Linked DNA regions of Homo sapiens: all the other regions are linked to region 3. The links are contacts of gene promoters, found by promoter capture Hi-C in human tissues and cell types (Jung and others, 2019). All regions are on one chromosome and are shown on one strand. Each heading gives the region's core, a stretch centred on a gene start or on the middle of the fragment in contact. The rest is flanking DNA. Distances are from core to core; before and after follow the strand shown.

Region 1 (3,191 bases), core at 644-3,143, 850 kb after region 3:
CGATCTGCTATTATTTCCCTTTGCCATCCAAGAGACAGTTTGCTGCATTATCAGCTGATGCAGTAAGTGCCAGGGTAAGGTATTAGCCACAAAGTTATTTTGGGAAATATTTTTCTATGCCTTTTTCAGAGCATTGCAAAGGCCAGGAGTCATCCTCCCACCCCCTGGGGCTTTACCTGACCTTAAAAACTCAAGGGCAGATGTAGTACACAGCTTGTTCTAGAAGATTTCCACTGGTCAGATCGCCTTTCCCCTCAGTGGCAGCTTGGCTGACCACCTCCCGCTTCATGAGGCTGCATCTTTACAGGATCTGCTGATCCTGCAATTGTACTTTGGGTCATCGATTGCTGCTTTAGCAGTAACAGTCGACAGCCTTGATTTTTATTATTTCCAGGATACAGTCCTCCTTTTTTTTTTTTTATTTGACGGAGATTTGCTCTTTCACCCAAGCTGGAGTGCAATGGTGAGATCTCTGCTCACTGCAACCTCTGCCTCCCGAGTTCAAGCAATTCTCCTGCCTCAGCCTCCCGAGTAGTTGGGATTACAGGCGCCCGCCACTACCCCCAGCTAATTTTTGTATTTTTAGTAGAGACAGGGTTTCACCACATTGGCCAGGCTGTTCTTGAACTCCTGACATCAGATGATCCACCTGCCTCGGCCTCCCAAAGTGCTGGGATTACAGGTGTGAGCCACCGCGCCCAGCCAACAGTCCTCCTTTAACAAAGACTATGCACCTTTCCAATATTTTGACCAGATGTAGGGAGAAGGCTTCGAATTTGGCAATCCAGCCCAGGAAAAGCAAAAAATGAACAAAATCCAATATAGGCTAGAAATCTGGTTTTAAATACATGTTCTGCTAAGGACCTCTTTTAGTCTATGAATAAAATTCAATTATGTGTATTTTGTGCCTTATTCTGATTTTTTTTACTTTTTTTTTTTTTTTTAAGGCAGGAAGGTTCTCGCTGTGTGGCCCAGGCTGGACTCCAACTCCTGGGCTCAAGTGATCCTCCCTTCTCTGCCGTAGCAGAGACTACGGGCCTCTGCCACTGACTGCGGCCTTATTCTGAATTTTTAATATCTAATTTTATCATCCCCCATAATCACAGCCAACATTTTCTTATCTCCTGGCTCTTCTTCATCAGCTCAGCATTTTTTTTCCCTCTCTAAAATATGTCGTCTCTATCTGACAGTCTATTCGGAGGAAAAGAGAACCTTAAGACCCAAGGTGGACCCTTCTCTGGCAACAGTAACGAGATAAGAATACGAAGCAGGTTCTGCGACTGCATTGCAATGTGATTGGAATGAGTAATCGTTTTTCATTCTGTATAGCATCTTTCTCCACCTACCAAATGGGGGGCCGTGCCATCTCTGCCTCTCGGTGAGGAGATATTACGACACAGCCAGTGAGATTCACAAAGCACCTTGCAGAGTGGGCCTACTCTACACTCTGGTTTTCAGTTTTTATTGGAGTCACAGGTGGGAATGCATCAAACAAAAGATATAGGCTCTGGAATGTACGGGAAAGAGAGTTTCCATAATGGAAGCCCAAAGACATTTCTACCGTTAAAATACATAATCTGCCGACCCTAAAACATTCACATAAAGAGGCAGGAGGGAATACTATCCCGCAGCTCCACGATTAGCCGCAGTCGTGGGCGGGGATTGGGGCTTGGATACGCCTTTTGCGTCTGGTCCCCAAGGGACGCTCCCCAACCCTCGGCGCGCGAGGCGCCGCGTGAGGCCGGCTTTGCCCCTCCTTCCCTGCAAGAGCGCAGAGGAGCGGTTCTTGCGCCTGCGCCCTGCGCCGCTGCGCGCTTTGGCACCCGCTTGGGGCCCTTTGTGCGCATGCGCGCTCGCGCTCCCGCCCTCTAGCTGCGCTCGGCTGAGTCAGTCAGTCTGTCGGAGTCTGTCCTCGGAGCAGGCGGAGTAAAGGGACTTGAGCGAGCCAGTTGCCGGATTATTCTATTTCCCCTCCCTCTCTCCCGCCCCGTATCTCTTTTCACCCTTCTCCCACCCTCGCTCGCGTAGCCATGGCGGAGCCGTCGGCGGCCACTCAGTCCCATTCCATCTCCTCGTCGTCCTTCGGAGCCGAGCCGTCCGCGCCCGGCGGCGGCGGGAGCCCAGGAGCCTGCCCCGCCCTGGGGACGAAGAGCTGCAGCTCCTCCTGTGCGGGTAAGGCGCGCGGGGAGCCCCCGCCCTGGGAAAGAGGGCGAGCGGGAGCCTGGGGGCTGGGGGGATTAGGAGGCGAGGCGGGAGGAGGACGAATTACCCTCGACTACTGACGGCTTCAGCCCCCCGGGGACGAGCGTTTGGAAAATGGGCAAAGGGGAAGGGGAACGTAAGGTTGTGCAGGCGGTGAGGAAATAGCGGGGTGTGAGGAAAACAGGTTGGGGGCGGGGAGATAGTCCAGTGGGCGTTAACGCCAAGACTGGGCAGGTGGGGAAAAATACCAGCTCGTGGGATAAAATGGAGAGTTGCTCGATGCATATGGTGAACCTGGGTGATTTAGTGAGGATTAGAGAGATTGAAAGGATACGGGCAGGTGGGTGGTGGGAGAAACAATTTGTTACTATTTTTGAGGGGATGGTGGTGAAAGGGTTGCATTGCAGGTTTGCAGACAGGTGTTGACATAATCAAGCATTCATGATAGTCCTCCAAAATATTTTTGGCTGCCCATGGGAAGGATGAGGAAGTTTAATGGAAGCATTGTAGCCTGTTTTTTTTGTTTGTTTGTTTTGTTTTTACTGTTTTCGGCTAGACTCCATGAATGCCGGATTTTTCTGAGGCTCCGAGGTAGAAGGAGGCGTGATGAGAATAGCTCAGGGAAGATTTGGGAGGGAGCTGCTAATGGTCCAAGATGGATCCGTGGCTGCATCTGCAACAGCCTGCTCTTCCCTGGCGCTGCGTGGGGGTGGGGACACGCAATCAGTCGCTTATATTCTAGAAAATAGAGTCATGCTAAGCTATCAACATGTTTTGATTTCATGTTTTCTGTGGGCTACTATTGATCGAAGTATAACAAAGGGGGGTGTTTATTGCAGAAAGGGGGAGGGGGAGAACATTCAGACAAAGCAAGGGCTGGTTGAGTCCCCTTCTCCCATCTCTGTGAAAGACTAAGAACGAAGCTGCAGACCTCCTTTAGTTTGCATTGTATACGCGTCTGCCTGCTGGTAAGAGCTGCCTGGCAAGCT
Region 2 (3,328 bases), core at 297-2,796, 650 kb after region 3:
CTTAATACCAAAACCAGGAAAGGACATAAAAAAAAAAAGAAAACTACAGACCAATATCCCTGATGAACACGGATGCAAAAATCCTCAACAAAATACTAGTTAACTGAATCAAACAGCATATCAAAAAGATAATCCACCATGATCAAGTGGGTTTTATAGCAGGGATGCAGGGATGGTTTAATATATGCAAGTCAATAAATGTGATATATCACATAAACAGAATTAAAAACAAAAATCACATGATTATCTCAATAGACACAGAAATAGCATTTGACAAGATCCAGCATCCCTTTATGATTAAAAACCTCAACAAAATCAGCATAAAAGGGACAAACCTCAAGGCAATAAAAGCCATCTACGACAAACCCACAGCCAACATTATAGTGATTGGGGAAAAGTTGAAAGCATTCCCCCAGATAACTGGAAAAAGACGAGGATGCCCACTTTCACCACATTTATTCGACATAGTGCTAGAAGTCCTAGCCAGAGCAATCAGACAAGAGAAAGAAATAAAGGGCATCCAAATCAGTAAAAAGGAAGTCAAACTGTTGCTGTTTGCTGATATGATCATAGACCTGGAAAACCCTAAAGCCTAATCCAAAAAGTCCTAGAACTGGTAAATCAATTTAGCAAAGTTTCAGGATACAAAATTATTGTACACAAATCAGTAGCCCTGCTGTACACCAACAATGACCAAGCTGAGAATCAAATCAAGAACTCAACCCCTTCTAAAACAGCTGTAAAAAAAAAAAAATACTTAGGAATATACCTAACCAAAGACATGAAAGATCTCTACAAGGAAAACAAAACACTGCTGAAAGAAATCACAGATGACACAAACAAATGGAAACACATCTCATGCTCATGGATGGGTAGAATCAATATTGTGAAAATGATCATACTGCCAAAAGCAATCTACAAATTTAGTGTAATTCCCATCAAAATACCTATTCACAGAACTAGAATGAAACAATCCTAAAATTAGTATGGAACCAAAAAAGAGCCCACATAGCCAAAGCAAGACTAAGCAAAAAGAACAAATCTTGAGGCATCACATTACCTGACTTTGAACTATACTGCAAGGCTATAGTTACCAAAACAGCATGGTACTGGTATAAAAACAGGCATGTAGACCAATGTAACAGAATAGGGAACCCAGAAATAAAACAAAATACAGCCAACTGTCTTCAACAAAGCAAACAAAAACATAAAGTAGAAAAGGACATCCTATTCAACAAAAAATGCTGGGATAATTGGCAAGCCACATGTAGAAGAATAAAGCTGGATCCTCAACTCTCACCTTCTACAAAAATCAACTCAAGATGCATCAAAGATTTAAATCTAAGATATGAAACCATAAAAATTCTAGAAGATAACATCAGAAAAACCCTTCTAGACATTGGCTTAGGAAAAGAGTTCATGATCAAGAACCCAAAAGCAAATGCAACATAAACAAAGATAAATAGATGGGACCTAATTAAACCAAAAAGCTTCTGCACAGCAAAAGAAACAATAAGCAGAGTAAACGGACAACCCACAGAGTGGGAGAGAATTTGTACAAACTATGCATTCAACAAAGGACTAATATCCAAAATCTGCAAGGAAATCAAGCAAATAAATCAGCAAGGAAAAAAACAATCCCATCAAAAAGTGGGCAAAGGACATGAACAGGCAATTCTCAAAAGAAGATATACAAATGGCCAACAAACATATTAAAAAACTGCTCAACGTCACTAATTATCAGAGAAATGCAAATCAAAACCACGATGCAATAATACCACCTTACTCCTCCAAAATGGCCATAACTTAAAAATAAAAAAAATAATATGTGTTGGCATAGATGTGGTGAAAAGGGAACACTTTTACACTGCTGGTGGGGATGTAAACTGATACAATCACTATGGAAAACACCATGGAGACTCCTTAAAGAACTAGAAGTAGCACAACAATTTGATCCAGCAATCCCACTACTGGGTATCTAACCAGAGGAAAAGAAGTCATTGTATGAAAAAGGCACTTGCACATGCATGTTTATAGCAGCACAATTCACAACTGCAAAAATATGGAACCAGCCTAAATGACCATCAACCAATGAGTGGACAAAGAAAATGTGGTATATATATATATGCACACACACACACATACACACACACCACGGAATACTACTCAGCCGTAAAAAGGAATGAAACAATGACATTCACAGCAACCTGGATAGAGCTGGAGACCATTATTCTAAGTGAAGTAACTCAGGAATGGAAAACAAAAAAATCATATGCTCTCACTTATAAGTGGGGGCTAGCTATGAGGGCACAAAGGCATAAGAATGATGTAATCAACTTTAGGGACTCAGAAGGGAAGGGTGGGAGTGGGGTGAGGGATAAAAGACTACACATTGAGTATAGTGTACACTGCTCAGGTGATGGATGCACTAAAATCTCAGAAATCACCACGAAGGAACTTTTGCATGCAACCAAACACCACCTGTTCCCCCAAAACTATTGAAATAAAAATACAGATAAAAATGTATCAAATATGTAAATGTAAAAAACAAAACTATAAAATACCTAGAAGAAAACAGGAGAAAATCTTTGTGACACTGGATTAGGCAAAGGTCTCTTAGATACACCACCAAAGGCACTATTCATAGAGATTTATATGAAATCATGTTGTATGTCCACTTCTTTGGCGGTCTCCTTCATATAACTATTTTGAGTGACATCCGTGTTGTTGCTTTTTATCAACAGTTCATTCCTTTTTATTACTGAGCAGTATTTCATTACATTTCCGTTTTATAAAAGGAAAAGCTGACACATTGGACTTCATCAAAATTTAAGAACCTGTTCTGAAGAGACAAGCCACAGATGGAGAGAAAATATTATAAAGTATATATCTGATGACGTACTTGTATACAGAACTTCTGAAGAACTCTCAAAACATACAAACCAATAGGAAAAAATGGGCAAAAGATTTGAACACTTCACCAAAGATTATATATATGGATGGCAAATATACGCATGAAAAGACGTTCAACATTATTAGTCATTAGGAAAATGCAAATGAAAACCACAATGAGATACCTACACATCTATTAAAATAGCTAAAATTTAGAAGATTTTGACCATGCCAAATGCTGATGAACTGGAACTCTTATAAACTGCTGGTAGGAATGTAAAATGATACAACCACTGTGGAAAACAGTAAGTTAAGGTTAGAGCTCTTTTAGAATTTGTCTGGCAGGCTTGGAAAGCCCCAAAAAAGAAAAAAAAAATGTTAAGGAAAACAGTAAATTAAATATACATCTACCACATGACCTAGCCATTTCATTCCT
Region 3 (3,511 bases), core at 728-3,227:
AAAAAAAAAAAAAGAGAGAGAGGAAGAGACTGGGCCTCGCTCAGCCTTCTAAGTAGCTGGGACTACAGGCACATGCCACCACGTCCAGCTTTTTTTTTTTTTTTTCCTGTAGAAACAGGGTCTTGCTTTGTTGCTCCTGCTGGTCTCTAACTCCTGGCCTCAAGTCATCCTCTGGCCTAGGCCTCCCAAAGTGCTGGAATTACAGGTATGAGCCACCACATCCAACCCTAAGTGATTTTGATACAAATTACTGATCTAGGGCCAGGTGTGGTGTCCAGACCAACCTGGGCAACATAGTGAGACACTGCCTGTACGAAAAAATTTTAAAATTAGCTGAGTGGTGCATCCATGTAGTCCCAGCTGCTCAGGAGGCTGAGGAAAGAGGATCCCTTGAGTCTAGGAGTTCAAGACTGCAAGTGAGCTATCATCACACCACTACACTCCAGCCTGTTGACAGAGTTGAAAAACAGATCTCAAAACAAAACAAAAACAACAAATTACTTATCTAGAAAATGTCCTTAATCTTACAGAGATAAAAACTAATATGTAACTAGATTAACTAATTTTCTCATGGTTACAGAGCAAACTTATGGTAGAAGTATATTGGAAAATTCAAGGTGCATGTTTCTCAGCTAAAGGCTCTTCCTAGAACTTGTTCCTTATTCACACCAATTATATTGCAGCCAAGTACTCTCTGAAGTACTCCCTCCAGAATAGCAATCCTGCCCTCCAAAGGATTCCTCACAAAAAAAAGTCTAAGTCCTTGCCCCTAGTTAGCCAGCCGACCTCTTCTCTGTTGCTTATAGCAGACCCTACAGGCCCCATCCAAGCCTATCAGTTCCATCAGGTACCCCCCAAAATTACTTCGGTTAACAGTGGTGGAGCACAGTCCTTCCTAGATTTGAGTAAGGCTCACTCCTCGCCTTTTCCACTCCAGGTCCTTACCTGACGGGTCTGCAGCGACTTGCAGGCAGACAGAAACTCCTGGGTCCGATCCCGGCAGGACATGGTGTCGGGAGGGGGAGGGACGAGGGTCACTGGGGGGGGCAGAGGGGCGATGTCGCTGCTGCTACTGCCAGCAGTTGCAGGGGACAGGACCTGTGTCTTTGAGAGACCCAGGTAGACACCCTGATCCGTGTTCTTAGACCCGTAGCGTTTCCGCGGGATCATTGAGACGCATAACCTCGGACTGTTGTGGAGGGGAGAGTGTCATTCCCCAGGCAACTTCTTTACCCAAACTCCCCCGCCCCACCCCAATCAACAAATCCCCGAGCCCCTTCTGCACTTCTCGTGGACTTTCGCGCCCAGGACGCTCGCAAATCCTGGGGCGGACCAGCAGCGGAAAGGGCCCCGCTTTTCCCCTGTCCCAAGTCGAACCCGCTTCAGACTCTTCTTCCAACTTGGCTCTGGCGGCCAGAGCGCGGGCCGGGGACCCTGAAGCAGAGACAGGGCCAGAGCCAACCCCGTGGTCCTGAGACTCCGGCCCGGCCCGTGTAACTGCCCCGGGCCCTAACCCAGCCCTTTCGTTTCCGCGGTTTCCTTCGGCCCCTCCGGGAGGGCCAGTGACGGACCTCCAAAGACTGACACACTTCGGTGGGCGGAGGGGGAAAACCTCTGGGTGTTTATTTGAAACAGGAAGTCCCACCCCCCGCCCAAGGTCCGCCTTCTGGAAGACTTCAACCACTCATTAGCTAAGGCCGACGTCTCTCTCAACAGAGGCTTTCCTGATTGGACGGCAAGGAATTCGCTCACCCGGAGCCGGGCCGGCAGGACTTGCCCGCTCGCCCCTGATTCCCTTCCCCCCGCCAGTCGTCGCCCCCGTAAAACCACTGCCCCAGAGCTGACACGGCGGCCAGATCCCCTCTTAAAGCGAATCTTACCTCCCCTCTGCCGCCTGCCGCCGCCGCCACTTCCAATCTCACCGGCCGTCACTGCCTCCTCCCCGAGCACTGAAGCCGCCGAAACCCGACCAAAGACTGGAAGCGGCCACGTCACCTACACGTAACCCCACCCCCAGTGACGAGGGGGCGGTCCCACGCGTTTCAAGCCCAGCGACCCGAAAGACACGCCCCACACCCAAACGCAAGAGCGATCCCGCCCTCCCATTGGCTAAGGCGCCACCGTGACCCCGCCCCAGAGTACTACAGCAGGCGCTCAGGGGGCTGGGCCCGCCTCCGGGAAGGAGCCTTAAAGAACCAGCTGCCCGGTGGTGTCCGCGCCCAGTCCCCCAGAGTGGTCGTGCAGGTATACGTTAGAAATTTTATTCTCTGGAGGTTGGGGCGGACTGAGAGCAGGTCTGGGGTCATCCCTTCTCCGGCTCCTCCTGGTTGCCTTCTCGGATCGGACTCTCCTGCTTCCGAATCTGGTCTGGTTGCCTCTTGCTTGGCCGCGAGGAGCCCCGACGACCGAACGTGGATAGTCGCCGCCACAGCACGGTAATCAGAAGGCTTTCGTTCGACTTGTGATTCGGATGGTCCGGGGAGTTCAAGTCGATATCTTCGGCGCCTGAGGGGACGACGAGGCCTCTGAGCTCACCCCTACCCTCGGGAAGCCCCCTCTCACACTCCCTGGGCCCTCTTTGTGTGTCTGTGGTCTCATCTTCCCTGCCGTCCTCAGACTCTTCCTCCTTGGACTGCTCATCAGACATCTCAAAGTCCTTGTCTTGGCAGCAGCCCATGGCCCCGCGTGGCCCTGGACTCCGTGCCACCCACGCCAGCCTGCCTGCCTCCAGGCCCGGCTTTTGTGACATCAGATATCCCGTCGCCCCAGCTCAGGCAGCCCCCACCCCAAGCTACCCCTCATTCCTTTCTCCCATCACAAAAGGCTCAGGGTCATGGTGGGTGTTCAGCAGTTTATTTACAAAGTGGGCACAGGGGCGTCAGGGGCTGGTGGACCCAGGCCGCTTCTTCTTTCTCCGTCTCGTTTGGAGAGCTCCTTGGGGCTGCTCCAAACCCGAGAGCTTCCGCTTGGCAGCTGCCTCCAAGGATGCCCAAAGTTCATCTGTCTCTGTGTCTTCTAGGGGCACCTTGTTGGGTTCTTGAGGCTCTTGGGGCTCATCCTGGTGAGTGGGAAGAAAGCTTAGGAGTCAGGGGGGCCGGGCACGGTGGCTCCCACCTGTAATCTCAGCACTTTGGGAGACCAAGGCAGGAGGATTGCTTGAGCCCAGGACTTAGCGACCAGACTGGGCAACATAAGGAGACCCCATCTCCACAAAAAGAAGTTTAAAAAAAAAAAAAAAAAAAAAAAAAAAGAAAAGTAGTCAGGGGCACAGGGACAAACCCACAGGGAAGGAGACCCTGGCTGAGAAAGAATCCCTCTGGGTACCACCACCTTTATTCCCTGCTCCTAGAAAGCAACCCCATCCATGCTGTTGGCAATAACCCTCTCAGGATTTTAACTGTTAATGCCTCTCAGAGAAATTAAGTGACCAGGCAGGTAAACAGATAGTCCCAAGTCTGCATTCCAGCTGCCTCCTTTTCCTCTCCATAGGGAGGTCCTCACATCTATGCCC
Region 4 (3,085 bases), core at 35-2,534, 790 kb after region 3:
CCTTCTTTAAGCTAATTAGAGTTGGACTTGTCTTTTGCAAAGTGATATATGATAATCAAAAGCAAGAATGTCAATGCGCCAAAGACAAGCCAGCTTGCTTGACTGCTCCCCATCTATACAGGACCGCATTCGTCACCCTGGTCCTTCCTTCTCCCCAGTTTATGCTGAGAGCGTCTACACATCAGTGTAGATGGTGGCACCCAAGTCCTGAATCTTTGTTTTCACCATACTCTTCACATCATCAGCCTCTGAGTTTGCCCCTTCCCTGCTAAACTGTGATGAACTCAAGGGCAGCACCTGGCAAAGCACCTGACACATGGTAACAACCAGGGATGGATGGTTGGATAGAGAAAGTCTGCTGATCCCACCCAGTGTTTCCAACTTGGGAAGAAATCTTTTTACTGTAGGGCTAAATGGGGTATGTCTAGCTATTTGTCGTATTTGAGAAGTTCAATTCAATCTCCTCACTGTGTCCATCAGTGAAAGAGAAAGCTTTAAGTAGAGATTTACGTTCCCTGCCCCCACCCCTGAAGAGCAACTGTTTAATCAGCTGGCTCCAGATGGGGCAACTAAATGAAAGTGCTACAAATTCAGAGGTCTTCACAAGTCCATGTTACTGTAAATGAAATTTGCGTAATTTTTTTTGAGAGACAGGGTCTTGCTGTTGCCCAGGCTGCAGTACAGTGATGGGACCGTAATTCACTGCTGCCTCCAACTCCTGGGCTCAAGTGATCATCCTGCCTCAGCCTCCAGAGCAGCTAGGACTACAGGTGCGCACCGTCATGCCTGGGTTTGTTTTTTGTTTTTTCCAGAGACGGGGTGGAAGGTGTCTCCATATGTTGCCCAAGCTGGTCTCAAAACTCTTGGGCTCAAGTGATCATCCTGCCTCAGCCTCCCGAGTAGCTAGGACTACAGGTGGGTGCCACTATGCACTTTTATTTTGTAGAGACAGAGGTGGAAAGTGTCTCCATATGTTGCCCAAGCTGGTCTCAAATTCCTGGGCTCAAGCATTTCTCCCACCTCAGCCTCCCAAAGTGCTGATTACAGGAGTGAGCCACGACACCTGGCCCTTGTGCTCACTTTTAAGCAACCCTGCCAACAATAGAGCCTTCTCCAGGACTATGCTAGTAAGACACTTGTTCAGTGTCGTTTTGTAGGACAGAGAAAGCTAACTCAAACCACATTGCCACTATCCCGTCAGAAGTCTTATTCACTTTGCCAAGCCAAACTATTTCACAGAACCTCCCATATTAAAAACACAGAGAAAGAAAACACAGATAACATGGTGTTGTGATCTTTATTCCATTAAATGATCTTACAAATTGGAGTAAAACAGAAACATGCTTTTAATATACTAATAGCATAATCTCATCCCATTGCACTTTTTAAAAACTATATTAAGTTTCAAAGCCACTCAAAGGCAAGGGTCTAGCAGACAGTACTTTTAACAAATCATTTTTTAAAATAAAAAAACCTGAGGAAAATTTGTGTATGTACAAGATTAGTATTAACTCCTTTAAGGCTTACATCCATGACAGCATGTATCTAATTAGAAAGCTATGGGAATCAATGCTACCTTCCCTTGCTCATAAAAACATTTAAACTGTAGTTCTGGCACACGAAATTTGCCCCAAAGAAAAATGTCTTTCAAAGCCCTTCTGTCCCTAGATCTGTTTTGCAAAGTTTCTGATATGGGGTACTTAGGTCACTAATGACAGGAATTAGGATCTTGTCTTCTTTCTTGTTCATTATTTTTATTTGTGGCTTAATGTTTCACCTGTATGTGAAAGATTTGGGGGTTCAAGTCACAGTGCTGAATTTTACTTTTTAAAAGAAAAACTATCAAAAATTGCTTTTAAAAAATCCTAATTACATTAGAAAATAGGATACCTGTACATTCATTTTTCAGAGAAGGCACTATGACAATGGAGAAAAACAGCTTTAAAGAGCTTAGATAATCCTCTGAATTAAAGGCATTCTTACTACTTCTGAACACAGAAAACGCCTGGGGATTGTACTGGCAAGAGACCACCTATTCTAAACCTCAGGTACAAAGTGTCCACTTGCCTCCAGACAATACTGAATTGTACTTTCTCCTTGGTACTTCCCATTCGATGAAGCAGTCTCTCTCTGTGGTCTCTGAACCACTATTTATAAAAGTGATGACTCCAGGACCACAGCCCATACCACCTGAGGCAATCCCTGGGTACAAAGCTAGGAATCTGAACTTTTTAAACAAGCCTGCTAGGTAAGTCTTATGCACTCCAAGGTAGATGAGAACCACTACCCTAAACATAGCTACAACAGGACTTACAGCAAGAAAAACCATTTGACTGCAAATATTATTTTACAATGGGCTTCTTAATGTCATTTTTAAAAATTAATCACACAAATAGTTTGTACTTTCATAACTGAAGCTTGTCTTCATTATGCCCTTATCCCTTGACTAGAATTTTGTTAAATAAAACATATGTAAGCCAGAATGACACAGCCATGTTGACAACTTGAGATGGAAGATCAAATCATCCTAAATTACATTTCAATAGTTCCAGGAAAGAAAAAAGTCCTGTGAAGACTTCCATGTAAGTTACATCATTTTTTAAAAGAACCTAGCAAAAAATTAAAAACTGTTTTATTAAAGTTTTAATTTTTAAAAAATTAAAAAATTAAAACTGTTTTATTGCTTTTGCATGGACTTGATTCAATCTACTTAATTTTGCTATAACTCATACATACATACATACTTATCCAAACTCACCCTATCCAAGGCACCATTTTACAAGCCAAGTAGAACACTGTGTGTGATCCACTAATGAAACCAACCACCAGTACAAGGCAGTATTTTTGTGTGTTTGACCAAAGCGCTTTACTTCATGTAAGAGAAAAAATAAAGCAAAACAAGGCCAGGTTCCAGTGGCTCACGCCTGTAATCCCAGCACCCTGGAAGGCCAAGACAGGCGGATTCCCAGAGGAGTTGAGACCAGCCTGGTCAACATGGCGAAGCCCTGTCTCTACTAAAAATACAAAAATAAGCCGGGTGTGGTGGCACATGCCTGTAATCCCTGCTACTTGGGAGGCTGAGGCA

Evidence for each region. The method cuts DNA at HindIII sites, captures the fragments that hold promoters and counts their contacts. A contact is called where the count stands out against the background at its distance.
Region 1: the fragment with the promoter of RTN3 here is called in contact with the fragment with the promoter of STX5 in region 3 in 1 of the 25 tissues and cell types used here (dorsolateral prefrontal cortex).
Region 2: a contact is called between a fragment that was not itself captured here and the fragment with the promoter of STX5 in region 3, in 1 of the 25 tissues and cell types used here (hippocampus).
Region 4: a fragment that was not itself captured here is called in contact with the fragment with the promoter of STX5 in region 3 in 1 of the 25 tissues and cell types used here (hippocampus).

The regions. Positions count from the first base shown.
Region 1 is chr11:63,679,607-63,682,797 of GRCh38, forward strand. It overlaps RTN3 (reticulon 3), which reads left to right and starts at 1,894. Exons shown (of 9, transcript NM_001265589.2): 1 at 1,894-2,172. The coding sequence starts at 2,031. RefSeq lists a silencer at 2,067-2,186. The HindIII fragment of the contact is 15,067 bases long and covers 1-3,191 here.
Region 2 is chr11:63,484,307-63,487,634 of GRCh38, forward strand. The region is part of intron 3 of PLAAT5 (phospholipase A and acyltransferase 5); the gene reads right to left. It also overlaps the pseudogene LOC124902822. Among named protein-coding and RNA genes, the nearest start is that of PLAAT5, 5.2 kb to the right of the region's middle. The HindIII fragment of the contact is 8,832 bases long and covers 1-3,328 here.
Region 3 is chr11:62,830,074-62,833,584 of GRCh38, forward strand. It overlaps STX5 (syntaxin 5), which reads right to left and starts at 1,978. Exons shown (of 11, transcript NM_003164.5): 1 at 1,881-1,978; 2 at 946-1,189. The coding sequence starts at 1,170. TEX54 (testis expressed 54) reads right to left here and starts at 2,768. Exons shown (of 1, transcript NM_001395459.1): 1 at 2,248-2,768. The coding sequence starts at 2,677. The coding sequence ends at 2,303. WDR74 (WD repeat domain 74) reads right to left here. Exons shown (of 11, transcript NM_001369450.1): 11 at 2,838-3,058. The coding sequence ends at 2,879. It overlaps STX5-DT (STX5 divergent transcript), which reads left to right and starts at 2,161. Exons shown (of 2, transcript NR_135084.1): 1 at 2,161-2,244; 2 at 3,490-3,511. RefSeq lists enhancers at 1,889-1,978, 2,349-2,418, 2,439-2,488. The HindIII fragment of the contact is 7,048 bases long and covers 1-3,511 here.
Region 4 is chr11:63,622,804-63,625,888 of GRCh38, forward strand. ATL3 (atlastin GTPase 3) reads right to left here. Exons shown (of 13, transcript NM_015459.5): 13 at 1,284-3,085. The region is part of intron 1 of LNCROPM (lncRNA regulator of PLAAT3 mediated phospholipid metabolism); the gene reads left to right. Among named protein-coding and RNA genes, the nearest start is that of LNCROPM, 8.0 kb to the left of the region's middle. The HindIII fragment of the contact is 4,329 bases long and covers 1-3,085 here.